Linked DNA regions of Homo sapiens: region 2 is linked to region 1. Evidence: promoter capture Hi-C in human tissues and cell types (Jung and others, 2019). All regions are on one chromosome and are shown on one strand. Each heading gives the region's core, a stretch centred on a gene start or on the middle of the fragment in contact. The rest is flanking DNA. Distances are from core to core; before and after follow the strand shown. Region 1 holds the start of AHCY (adenosylhomocysteinase). Region 2 overlaps ZNF341-AS1 (ZNF341 antisense RNA 1).

Evidence for each region. Contacts are between HindIII fragments. The study calls those that stand out against the background at their distance.
Region 2: a fragment that was not itself captured here is called in contact with the fragment with the promoter of AHCY in region 1 in 1 of the 25 tissues and cell types used here (dorsolateral prefrontal cortex).

Annotation. Positions count from the first base shown.
Region 1 is chr20:34,300,281-34,305,794 of GRCh38, forward strand. AHCY (adenosylhomocysteinase) reads right to left here and starts at 3,075. Exons shown (of 10, transcript NM_000687.4): 1 at 2,963-3,075. The coding sequence starts at 2,990. RefSeq lists a silencer at 2,450-2,679 and enhancers at 3,250-3,299, 3,320-3,439. The HindIII fragment of the contact is 38,207 bases long and covers 1-5,514 here.
Region 2 is chr20:33,800,383-33,805,896 of GRCh38, forward strand. All of the region lies in intron 1 of ZNF341-AS1 (ZNF341 antisense RNA 1), which reads right to left. Among named protein-coding and RNA genes, the nearest start is that of ZNF341-AS1, 8.0 kb to the right of the region's middle. The HindIII fragment of the contact is 4,512 bases long and covers 391-4,902 here.

The DNA.
Region 1 (5,514 bases), core at 1,825-4,324:
ACAGCAGCCAGAAGAGGGAGGCTCTTAAAAATTTAAGTTACATCACCTCCATCATTCTACTAAAGTAAACAAAACTAAACAAGCAAACCCTCCAATGGCTTCCCTCAATCTTCGGGCCCTATCTGCATGACTGCCTGCCCCTCCTCCATCTCTCCACTTTCCCCACTCACTAGCTGTTCAACACACAGGCTTCCTGACTGACTTCAGGCAAGCTCCACTCATTTCCACCTCAGGGCTTTAACCCAAGCAGTTCTCGGCCTGGAAGGCTCCTCTCAAGCACCTAATACAGTACCTGGCACACAGTAGGTGCTGAAAAAAACCTGGAAACAGGAAAGAACCTAGTATATCCCTGCTAGAGGAACCAAGAGTGCACCAGGGTGACTCAAATAGAGGCATAAGATGAGTTGGGACTTCAGTCCCAGTGAAGTGGGGAACCTACAGTTTTCAGGGGCCAGCATTCAGAGACCAGATTTGTCTTTTGAAAAGACCCCATTGGCTGCTGTGTGGATCTGCGGAGCAAGAGATCCAGGGAGACCTGCAAGGAGAGAGACCAGACTGGGGTGGTGACCGTGGAGACAGACAAGTGGCAGATCTGCTCACATAAAATGGAGACAATACTACTTTATCTGTATGCATGTCTGTGCCACCCCTGTCTCTGGGTCACCTTTGTGTCTCCAGCATGACCTGGCTCAGAGAAGGGGTCAGCAACTGTTTACCGACCATATCTGTCCTCAGAACTGAATGAAAGATCCATGAGAGGGGCTGGCACGTGACAAGGGTGGCAAAGAAAAACAACACAAATCTGAACCTAGTCTGAGTCCCAGCATTTACTAATGACCCAGAGAGGACCCAGAGAGGAGTTTGCTGCAGGTTCCATAGCCAATTAACCGCAGAACCAGAACTGGCAGCCAGGCAGGGCTAGAGCAGAGGCCCCTCTCAAGGCCCCTCCTGGGAGGGGCCCGGCTGTATGGGACAATGGGTTATGCCCTGTGCTGCTAAGCTCCACCCCTCCACCACCACATGTCCCTCCAGCTAAAAATAACTCCTTCAGTGCCCTCGAGGACACTGTGCCAGCCCCACAGTTTTCCCTGGGACCCTCAACTCCAAAGGCACAGGAGAGGCTAGATGCTGCAATCTCTGGAGCTAAGGACTTGCAAAAGTCACAGGAACACCTGTCCCCAGGACAAGCCAAGAGGAACAGCAAGAGCCCCTGTAAACATCAGTTTCTTCATCTGTAAAGTGTGGATAATCATCCCTAGCTTGCTATGCGCCTTAAGTAAAGATAATGCCATATGATCAAGATCTGGCATACAGCAGGGCCTCCTTCCTCCAGCCCCACCCAGCTAAGCTCCCCATCCCCAAATCCAGCTTTATCTCCACCCACACAACCCAATGGCCCCAATCCTGACCCACTAATCTCTCCACAGTATGACAAGCCCCCATTCCAGCTCTACTATTGATGTGACCTTCACATAACCTTTCTGGGTTCAGTTTCAGCATCCACACAATGGAGACAGTCTACTCTGGTAGCAACTTGATGAACTACTTCAACAGAATCTTTGCAAGTCACCTCCCAAGGGCCTCAGTTTCATGCTCTATATAACGGGATTACGTCCACCTCTATGAAGATTATTGTGTAAACACACGTAAATCACCAGATATACAGCAAGTGTTTCCATAAATGTGGATGGCATTCTCCAGACTTAATAGTGTCTTTTTTTGTTTGTTTTTTTTTTTTGAGACAGGGTCTTGCTCTGTTGCCCAGGTTGGAGCGTGGTGGTGCAATCTCGGCTCACTGCAACCTCCGTCTCCCCGGCTCAAACAGTCCTCCTGCCTCAGCCTCCCGAGTAGCTGGGAATGAAGGCGCCCGCCACCACGCCCAGCTAGTTTTTGTATTTTTGGTAGAGATAGCGTTTCACCACGTTGGCCAGGCTGGTCTCGAACTCTTGACCTCAAGTGATTCGCCCACCTCGGCCTCTCAAAGTGCTGGGACTACAGGGGTGAGCCACCACACCCGGTCCAATAGTGTCAAAGTTACTTGAAAAGCTACCAGCCAAACTGAACTGGTTTTTGCTGAAAATTCACTAGGATTGTTCCGCGTGTATTCGCTTGCACACAGTGGTGAAAGGGTGCGCTCAGAGATCTAGATGGCCTGCGTTCCAATCTTGCTCCATCACCACCAGCTGTAAGACTGAGGGCAAGTTACCTCTGCCTCAGGATTCTCATCATAAAATGAGAACAGTTTCCCTATAGAGCCATGAGACTAGAATAAAGCTAGAAGGCAGTGCCGATCCCACAGGAAACACTAAGTAAACGTTAACTATCCCTGTATTACACTTCAATCGGTGGGACAGCAGGATTTTTCAAACCACTCCAAATTTTCTTCGAGATTTCTGCAAGGCTGCCCCTGCTGGAGGGGTGGGGGACCCCACAGGTTGGGTAACTGGCCCAAAGTCCCAGGGGAGAGGAGGATCGGAGCCGGCCTGGGGCTCGCTTTCCAGGCCTCTCCTCATACACCCTCCGGGGTGCCCTCGCCGTCCCTGTAGGAGGCCCAGAGAGGGGTGGACGCTCGTCGGGGCCGCCCAGCTGGACAGGGTCCGGTCCAGGCCTAGGAGGCCGGGCGCAGGCCCCCCGAGCAGGGTCCGGCAGGTGCCAGCCGTCCCAGGCCGTGGCCAGGTGTGCTCTCCCGCGGAGCACGCCGCCAGTTTGCGGCTCGCAGACCGCGCGGCGGCCCCGGCGTCGCGGGGCATGCTGGGACTTGTAGTCCACGGCCACCCGGAACGGCCCGCTCATGGCCGCGCGAGAACTCCAACTTCCAGCTGGCTTCGCGCGGCCAGAAACGCGCCGAGGCTGCGATTCCAGGGGGTCCAGAGAGCCCCGAGTCGGCCCTGCAGCCCCCGCCACGAACAAGCCCCGGGCGGGTGCCGGGCGGCCGCAACCGGCTGCAGGTCCTGGGACTCACCGACTTTGTAGGGCAGTTTGTCAGACATGCTGGCGGCACTCGTGATGGAAACGGGCGAAGGGGGCTGGGCCTCAGTCTGGGAACAGGAACTGGGCGGGCAGCGCCGAGCAGGGATATGCGCGTGGCGCCGACGCCTTTAAATATCTTCCTCGCACTTGCATATTCATGACCCGCTGGGGCGGGGCCCAACGCGCAGGGCGGAGCCGGAGGGGATTTCGATCCCTGAAAAGAAGCCTCAGAATTTCACAAGGCGTGGCCCCAGGAGTCTCACTCACCGGTCCGGAAGGGAGCGCCGGGAGAGGCCTGAGAGCCAGCCGGGCCGTCCTCTCGCTGGTTCAGCCAGTTGATTCAGTGTCAAAACCCAGCGGAACTGAAATTCCGCCAGTTCACTTCCCTGTGCCTCAATTTCCTCATCTGTAAAATGGGCCAAATGACATCTGCCACACAGATTATTATAAGTAAAGTTGCAGGCCAGGCGCGGTGGCTCACACCTGTAATCCCAGCACTTTGGGAGGCCAAGGCGGGAGGATCGCTTGAGCCCAGGAGTTCAAGACCATCCTGGGCAACACAGTGAGACCTGAACTCTACAAAAAAAAATTAAAAATTAGCCGGGCGTGGTGGCGCGCGCTTGTGGTCCCAGCTACTTGGGACGCGGAGGCGGGAGGGAGGATCTTTTGAGCCTGGAGATCGAGGCTGCAGTGAGCTATCATCCCACCACAGCACTTGAGCCTGGGCGAAAGGGCAAGACCCTATCTCAAAAAAACCAAAACAAAGTTAAGTTGCCATTTGTCAGGTACCTACTGACATCCCAAACATTCGCCTTACTCCAAGTAACCAACACCCTGAATTTAAGTAAGTTTGCATACATTTCTTATACTTTTACTGCATCCGTATATCATTAAATAGTTCTGTGTTTAGCACCTTTATATATCAACCGTATTTACCCTTCTGCAACTTGCTTTTTTCTGTGAGCATTATATTTATGAGACTCATGCATATAGCTTGAGTATATTCATTTTTGCTGCTGTATAATTCAGTCATCCCAGGCATGGGAAGGGGAAATTGGTTTCAGGACCTCTGTGGACTCCAAAACCCTTCTATGTTCAAGTCCCTCATATAAAATGAGGCAGTATTGGCATATAACCTATGCACATTCCTCCGTACACTTTAATCATCTCTAGATTACTTATAACTAATATAATGTAAATGCTATGCAAATGGTTGTTTTGTAATTTGTATTATTTTTATAGTTATGTTTTTTTAATTGCTTTTTTTCCCCTGAATTTTTTTTTTTTTTTATGGAGTCTCACTCTGTCGCCCACACTGGAGTGCAGTGGCACCATCTAGGCTCGCTGCAACCTCCACCTCCCGGGTTCAAGCAATTCTCCTGCCTCAGCCTCCCGAGTGGCTTGGATTACAGGCACGCACCACCACACCTGGCTAATTTTGTTTTTTCTTTTTTTGAGATAGAGTTTGGCGCTTGTTGCCCAGGCTGGAGTGCAATGGCATGATCTTGGCTCACACCAACCTCTGCCTCCCGGATTCAAGCGATTCTCTTGCCTCAGCCTCCCGAGTAGCTGGGATTACAGGCATGAGCCACCACGCCTGGCTAATTTTGTATTTTTAGTAGAGACGGGGTTTCTCCATATTGGTCAGGCTAATCTCGAACTCCCGACCTCAGGTGATCCGCCAGCCTCTGCCTCCCAAAGTGCTGGGATTACTGGCGTGAGCCACCGTGCCCGGCCTCTACTCATTTTTTAACCTAAAAATGAGAAAAGAATTAAACTCTTCTGGCCGGGCGCGTGGCTCACGCCTGTAATCCCAGCACATTGGGAGGCCGAGGCGGGCGGATCACGGGGTCAGGAAATCGAGACCATCCTGGCTAACAGGGTAAAACCCCATCTCTACTAAAAATACAAAAAAAAAAAAAAATTAGCTGGGCGTGGTGTCGGGAGCCTGTAGTCCCAGCTACTCGCAAGGCTGAGGCAGGAGAATGGCGTGAACCCGGGAGGCCGAGCTTGCAGTGAGCCGAGATCGCACCACTGCACTCCGGCCTGGGCGACGGAGGGAGACTCTTGTCTCAAAAAATAAAAAATAAAAATAAGAATTAAGGTCTTCTATGACATAGTAAATGTATTGGTCTCACTTGATCTGTACATCTGACCTCTGTCTGAGAGTCATGAGGGCCGATGTCAAGCAGAGACTTCCTGAGGGAACGAGGGTCCACGCCTGGGAGGTGGGCAGCAGGGTCCTCACGCATCCCTTTCAGCATTCTGCAGTGCATTGCAGTGTGTAGTGAGTCGTGTCAGTCTAACTAAACGTAGGATCATGTTACTAGGTTGTCCTACGAGAACAGAAAAATGGCTTCAAAATATTCCTGCAAAGAAATGGCAAGTTCCAGATACTGTGAAAATTACCAGCACAGCAAACAAGTAGAAAAGGACACAGCTGACAGGTCTCTTTCTGGTATGAATGCTGGTCTTTGTCAGCCATGTTGTAAGGAATGTAATAAAATTTGAGAAAACAATGAAAAAGACACTTTGAAATATGAA
Region 2 (5,514 bases), core at 1,397-3,896, 500 kb before region 1:
CCAAAATGGGGAAACCCTGTCTCCACTGAAAATACAAAAATTAGCCAGGTGTAGTGGTGGGCACTTGAAACTGGGTGGTAGAGGTTGCTGTGAGCCGAGATTGTGCCACTGCACTCCAGCCTGGGCAACAAAGCGAGACTCTTTGTCTCAAACAATAAAAATAAAAATTGAGATAAAATTCACATGACATAAAATTCACCATTTTGGTCGGGTGCGGTGGCTGATGCCTGTAATCCCAGGACTTTGGGATGCTGAGGCGGGCGGATCACCTGAGGTCAGGAGTTTGAGACCACCCTGGCCAACATAGGGAAACCCCATCTCTACTAAAAATGCAAAAAATTAGCCAGGTGTGGTGGCAATACCTGTAATCTCAGCTACTCAGGAGGCTGAGGCAGGATAATTGCTTGAACCTGGGAGGCAGAGGTTGCAGTGAGCCAAGATTGCACCACTCCACTCCAGCCTGGGCAACAGAGTGAGACTCCATCTACCAAAAAAAAAAAAAAAAAAACCTCACCATTTTAACTAAAGTATACAATGCAGCTCTTTTTTATTACATTCACAATATTGTGTAACCATCGCCACAATCTAGTTACATAACATTTTCGTCATCCCAAAAAGAAACCCTGTACCCATTAAGCAGTCATTCTCCTTTTTCCCCCTCTCTGGACCCTGGCAACCACTAATCTGCTTTCTATCTCTATGGATTTGACTATTTTGGACATTTCATATAGGGTCAGCCTGGGTGACAGGGTCTCACTTTGTCACCCAGGCTGGAGTAGAGTGATGAAATCACAGCTCACTGCAGCCTCGAACTCCTGGGCTCAAGTGATCCTTCCACCTTAGCCTCCTGAGTAACTGAGACTACAGGCACACACCACCATGCCCGGCTAATTTTATTTATTATTATTATTATTTTGTATAGCTGGGGTGTCACTATGTTACCTAGGCTGGTCTTGAACTCCTGGGCTCCTGCGATCCTCCTGCCTTGGCCTCCCAACGTGCTGGGATTACAGGCATGAGCCACAGGGCCTGGCCTCATTCCTTTGCATTTGGATACCCAGCTGTCTTAGCACCATTTGTTGAAAAGACTATGCTTCCCCCATTTAATGGTCTTAGCACACTTGTTGAAAATCAATTGACTATAGATGTATAGGTTTATTTTTGTACTCTTGACTCTATTCAATTGATCGATAAACTTCTTTATTGTAGCTTTGCAGTAAGTTTTGAAATCAGGACATGCGAATCTTTCAACTTTATTTTTCTTTTTGAATATTGTTTTGACTATTCAGGGTCTCTTGCGATTCCATATGAGGTGTGGGATAAACTTGTCCATTTCTGCAAAAAATGCAGCTCAGATTTTGAAAGACTTGTATTGAATCTGTTGAGCAATTTGGAGAGTGTTGCTGTCTTAACAATTAAGTCTTCTAATCCATGGACATGGAATGTGTTTCCATTTATTTATGTCTTCCTTGATTTCTTTCAACAAGGTTTGGTACTTTTCAGAGGACAAGCCTTTCCTTTCCGTGGTTAAATTTATTGCTAAATGTTTTATTATTTTTGATGCTATTGTAAATGGAAATGATTCTTAATATCATTTTCATATTGCTCGTTGCTAATGTACAGAAATACAACTGATTTTTGTGTGTTGATATTGTTGAACTTTGCTGAACTCATTTTAGTTCTAATAGCTTTCTGTGTATTCTTTAGGTTTTTCTCTATATGAGATCATGTCATCTACAAATAGAAATAGTTTTACCTCTGCTTTTCCAATCTGGATGCCTTTTATTTATTTTTCTTGCTTAATTGCCCTGGCAAGAACTTTCAGTACAATGTTGATTGGAAGTGATGAGAGTAGGCATCCTTATCTTATTCCTGATCTTAGGGGGAAAGCTTTCGGCCTTTGTCTTCACCATTAAGTGTGATGTTAGCTGTGGGTTTTGCACAGATGCCTTTTACCAGGTTGAGAAGTTCTCTCCTCTTCCTAGTTGGCTGAGTGTTTCAGGTTTTGTTTTTTTGTTTGTTTGTTTTTTGTTTAATCAGGAGAGAATGTTGGATGAACTCTTTTTTACAACTAAAAATCAGCGAAGTCCTCTGTATTTAATTTGGTATAATTATGTGAGACCAAGTTTCATAATTAAGGTTTTATTTCATAATTTTTTTGATTTTTTGGGACAGAGTTTCACTCTTGTTGCCCAGACTGGAGTGTGATGGTGTGATCTCGGCTCACCGCAACCTCCGCCTCCCAGGTTCAAGCAATTCTCCTGCCTCAGCCTCCCGAGTAGCTGGGATTACAGGCATGCACCACCACGCCTGGCTAATTTTGTATTTTTAGTAGAGATGGGGTTTCTCCATGTTGAGGCTGGTCTCAAACTCCTGTCGTCAGGTGATCCGCCCATCTCGGCCTCCCAAAGTGCTGGGATTACAGGCGTGAGCCACCGTGCCCGGCCTCATTTCATAATTAATGTTTTCAAAGAAGGTTACAAATATATGGCTGGGTATCTTTAACCATGTGACTTTAGTCAATTCCTACTTCTTTGGGCCTCAGTTTCCTCAACTGTAAAATGGAGGTGGATAGTAATGCTTACTTCATGGGGCTTAGAGGGATGATGGAGATAAGATGGGATTTTTGTGTGCAAAGGCACTTTGCAAATAAAAACTATTCTTCTGTTGCTGCTCTTATTAGAGATACTTTGTGTGTGTATTTTTGTTGTTGTTGTTCGTTTCTTTTTTGAGACAGGGTCTCCCTCTGTTGCCCAGGCTGGAGTGCATTGGCGTCATCATAGCTCACTGTAGCTTTGAACTCCTGGGCCCAAGCAATTTTTCCACCTCAGCTTCCCAAGTAGCCCAGACTACAGGCTTGCACCACCATGCCTGGCTAATTTTTAAATTTTTTTCTAGAGAAGAGATCTCACTATGTTGCCCAGGATGGTGTTGAACTGTGGCCTCAAGCAATCCTCCCACCTTGGTTTCCCAAAGTGCTGAGATTACAGGCATGAGCTGCCATGCCCAGCTAGAGATGTTATTTATTTATTTATTTATTTATTTACTTATTTACTTATTTTTGAGATGGAGTCTTGCTATGTCGCCCCGGCTGGAGTGCAGTGGCATGATCTCGGCTCACTGCAACCTCCACTTCCTGGGTTCAAGTGATTCTCCTGCCTCAGCCTCCTGAGTGGCTGGGATTACAGGTGTGCACCACCATGCTTGGCTCATTTTCGCATTTTTTAAGTAGACTTGGGGTTTCACCATGTTGGCCAGGCTGGTCTCGAACTCCTGAGCTCAAGTGATCCATCCACCTCGGCCTCTCAAAGTGCTAGGATTACAGGCATGAGCCACCATGCCCAGCCTGGAGATGTTGTTTTAAATTGTAATATAACATGTTTAATAAAGTACATAAGATACATAAAGGGCAATCGTCTTAAGTATAAAAACTGATTAATTTGTATACAGCCATGTGAACACCTCTGGATCCTGCTATTGAACCTGTTAGCACCTTGTAAGGGTCCTCTTCCTGGTCTGTACCTCCCTGGAGGTAACCATTATTCTGATTCCTAACACCATGGATTAGTTTTGCCTGTTTTTGAGCTTCGTATATATGGAGTCATACAAGCTTTTGTATCTGGTTTCTTTCACTCAGCATAATATCTGTGAGTCATCCAAATTCTTGCATGTATCAGTGGCTCATTCTTTTTCACACAGTTTTGAATAAGTTAATACGAGTTGGTCAAAGTTTGAAAAGGCTGTGCATTTGTCTGAGAGACCAGAAAAATACAGGCCAGCAAAGCCCAGGGCTCTCCAGTATTGAGCCAGTCCACTCTGTGAATCTCTATTTATGGCAGCTGAATTCTCAGCCAGGATGGCAGCTACTTTGCCCATGTGTCACCACTTCCCATCCCATACCCTGGGTAGACATCACAAATCCATCTTGAGCACTTTTTTTTCTTTTTTTGAGACAGTGTCTCACTCTGTCACTCAGGCTGGAGGGCAGTTGCATGTTCACAGCTCACTGCAGCCTCAACCTCCTGGGCTCAAGTGATCCTCCTGCCTCAGCCTCTCGAATAACTGGGACCATAGGTGTGTGCCACCATGCCCAGGTAATTTTTAATTATTTCTTGAGACTGAGTGTCCCTATGTCGCCCAGGCTGGTCTCAAACTCCTGGGTTCAAGCAATCTTCCCATCTTGGCCTCCCAAAGTGCTGAGATTACAGGTGTGAGTCGCCATGCCGGGCCAATCTTGGCACTTTTTTTTACAAGAACTTCTGATGCAGCCTCAAAATTCTTTTCAACCCAGCGGTCCAGGTGGCCAACACTAATTGCTTGTAGTTGGTACTTGATATAGTTTGGCTGTGTCCCCACTCAAATCTCATCTTGAATTATATCTCCCATAATTCCCATTGTTGTGGGAGGGACCTGGTACGAGATAATTAAATCATGGCAGCGGTTTCTCCCATACTGTTCTTGTGGTAGTGAATAAGTGTCATGAGATCTGGTGGTTTTATAAGGAGAAACCCCTTTCTCTTGGCTCTCATTCTCTCTTTGCCCGTTGCTATCCATGTAAGACGGGACTTACTCTTCCTTGACTTCTGCCATGATTGTGAGGCTTCCCCTGCCATATGGAACTATAAGTCCAATTAAACCTCTTTCTTTTTGTAGATTGCCCAGTCTTGGGTATGCCTTTATCAGAAGCATGAAAACAGACTAATACAGTACTCAAGATTAAATCTGAGGCTTCTGCTGTCATATCCCCAAGATATTTTTCTGGGCTCCCAGAGTTAGAACATGAGGGGCTCTGTTATCACCCTCAGTTTACCACACAGCTGTATGAAACTGATGGTGGTGAGGTCCACAGCATCTTCCTGTTCATATATCCTTTGGGTAATGGCTCCAACCCAGCAAGTGTTTTGCTACCTATGTACCTGGGAGCAACTTGACTTAGATAAGAGGTGATGAGGCAGACTGCTTAGATGTGGAGGGGCTGCTGCACCCATGAGGTGGCTTGACTGAAGCCTCTTTGTTTTTCTCTTTTACTTTGCTAAAACATTGCAGTGTCTCAATTACGGAACAAACACAAATGTGACTTAATGTTTAACAATACTCCTGTGAATTCTTGACAGTTCTAGCATGTCTCTCACATTTGAAAAACTTATTCCAACCACAAAATTGGGTGAAATGAACTCTACCATCCTCTGGGAATGGCTGCCTGTATGTGCAGGGTTGGAGGTTGTGGCTGATTAAAACAACAACAACATCCAACTCATGGCTTTTGTCCAAATGTAAATCATAGTCTGAGGGAGGAGATAAGACTCACATATAAACTAATAGAGGAAAAGTCCAGCTAAGCTCTCATTTATTTGAAACTCTGATCCTGAGCAACTTCACATATTTGAAAAGTACAGGAAGGAATAAAAAATACCTTTGAGAAGCTGTATTTTTCTTCATGGGAGAGCATTTCAGCTCCTCATTTAGAATTGGTTTATTCTTTGTTTTTGTTTTTGTTTTTTTTTTGAGACGGAG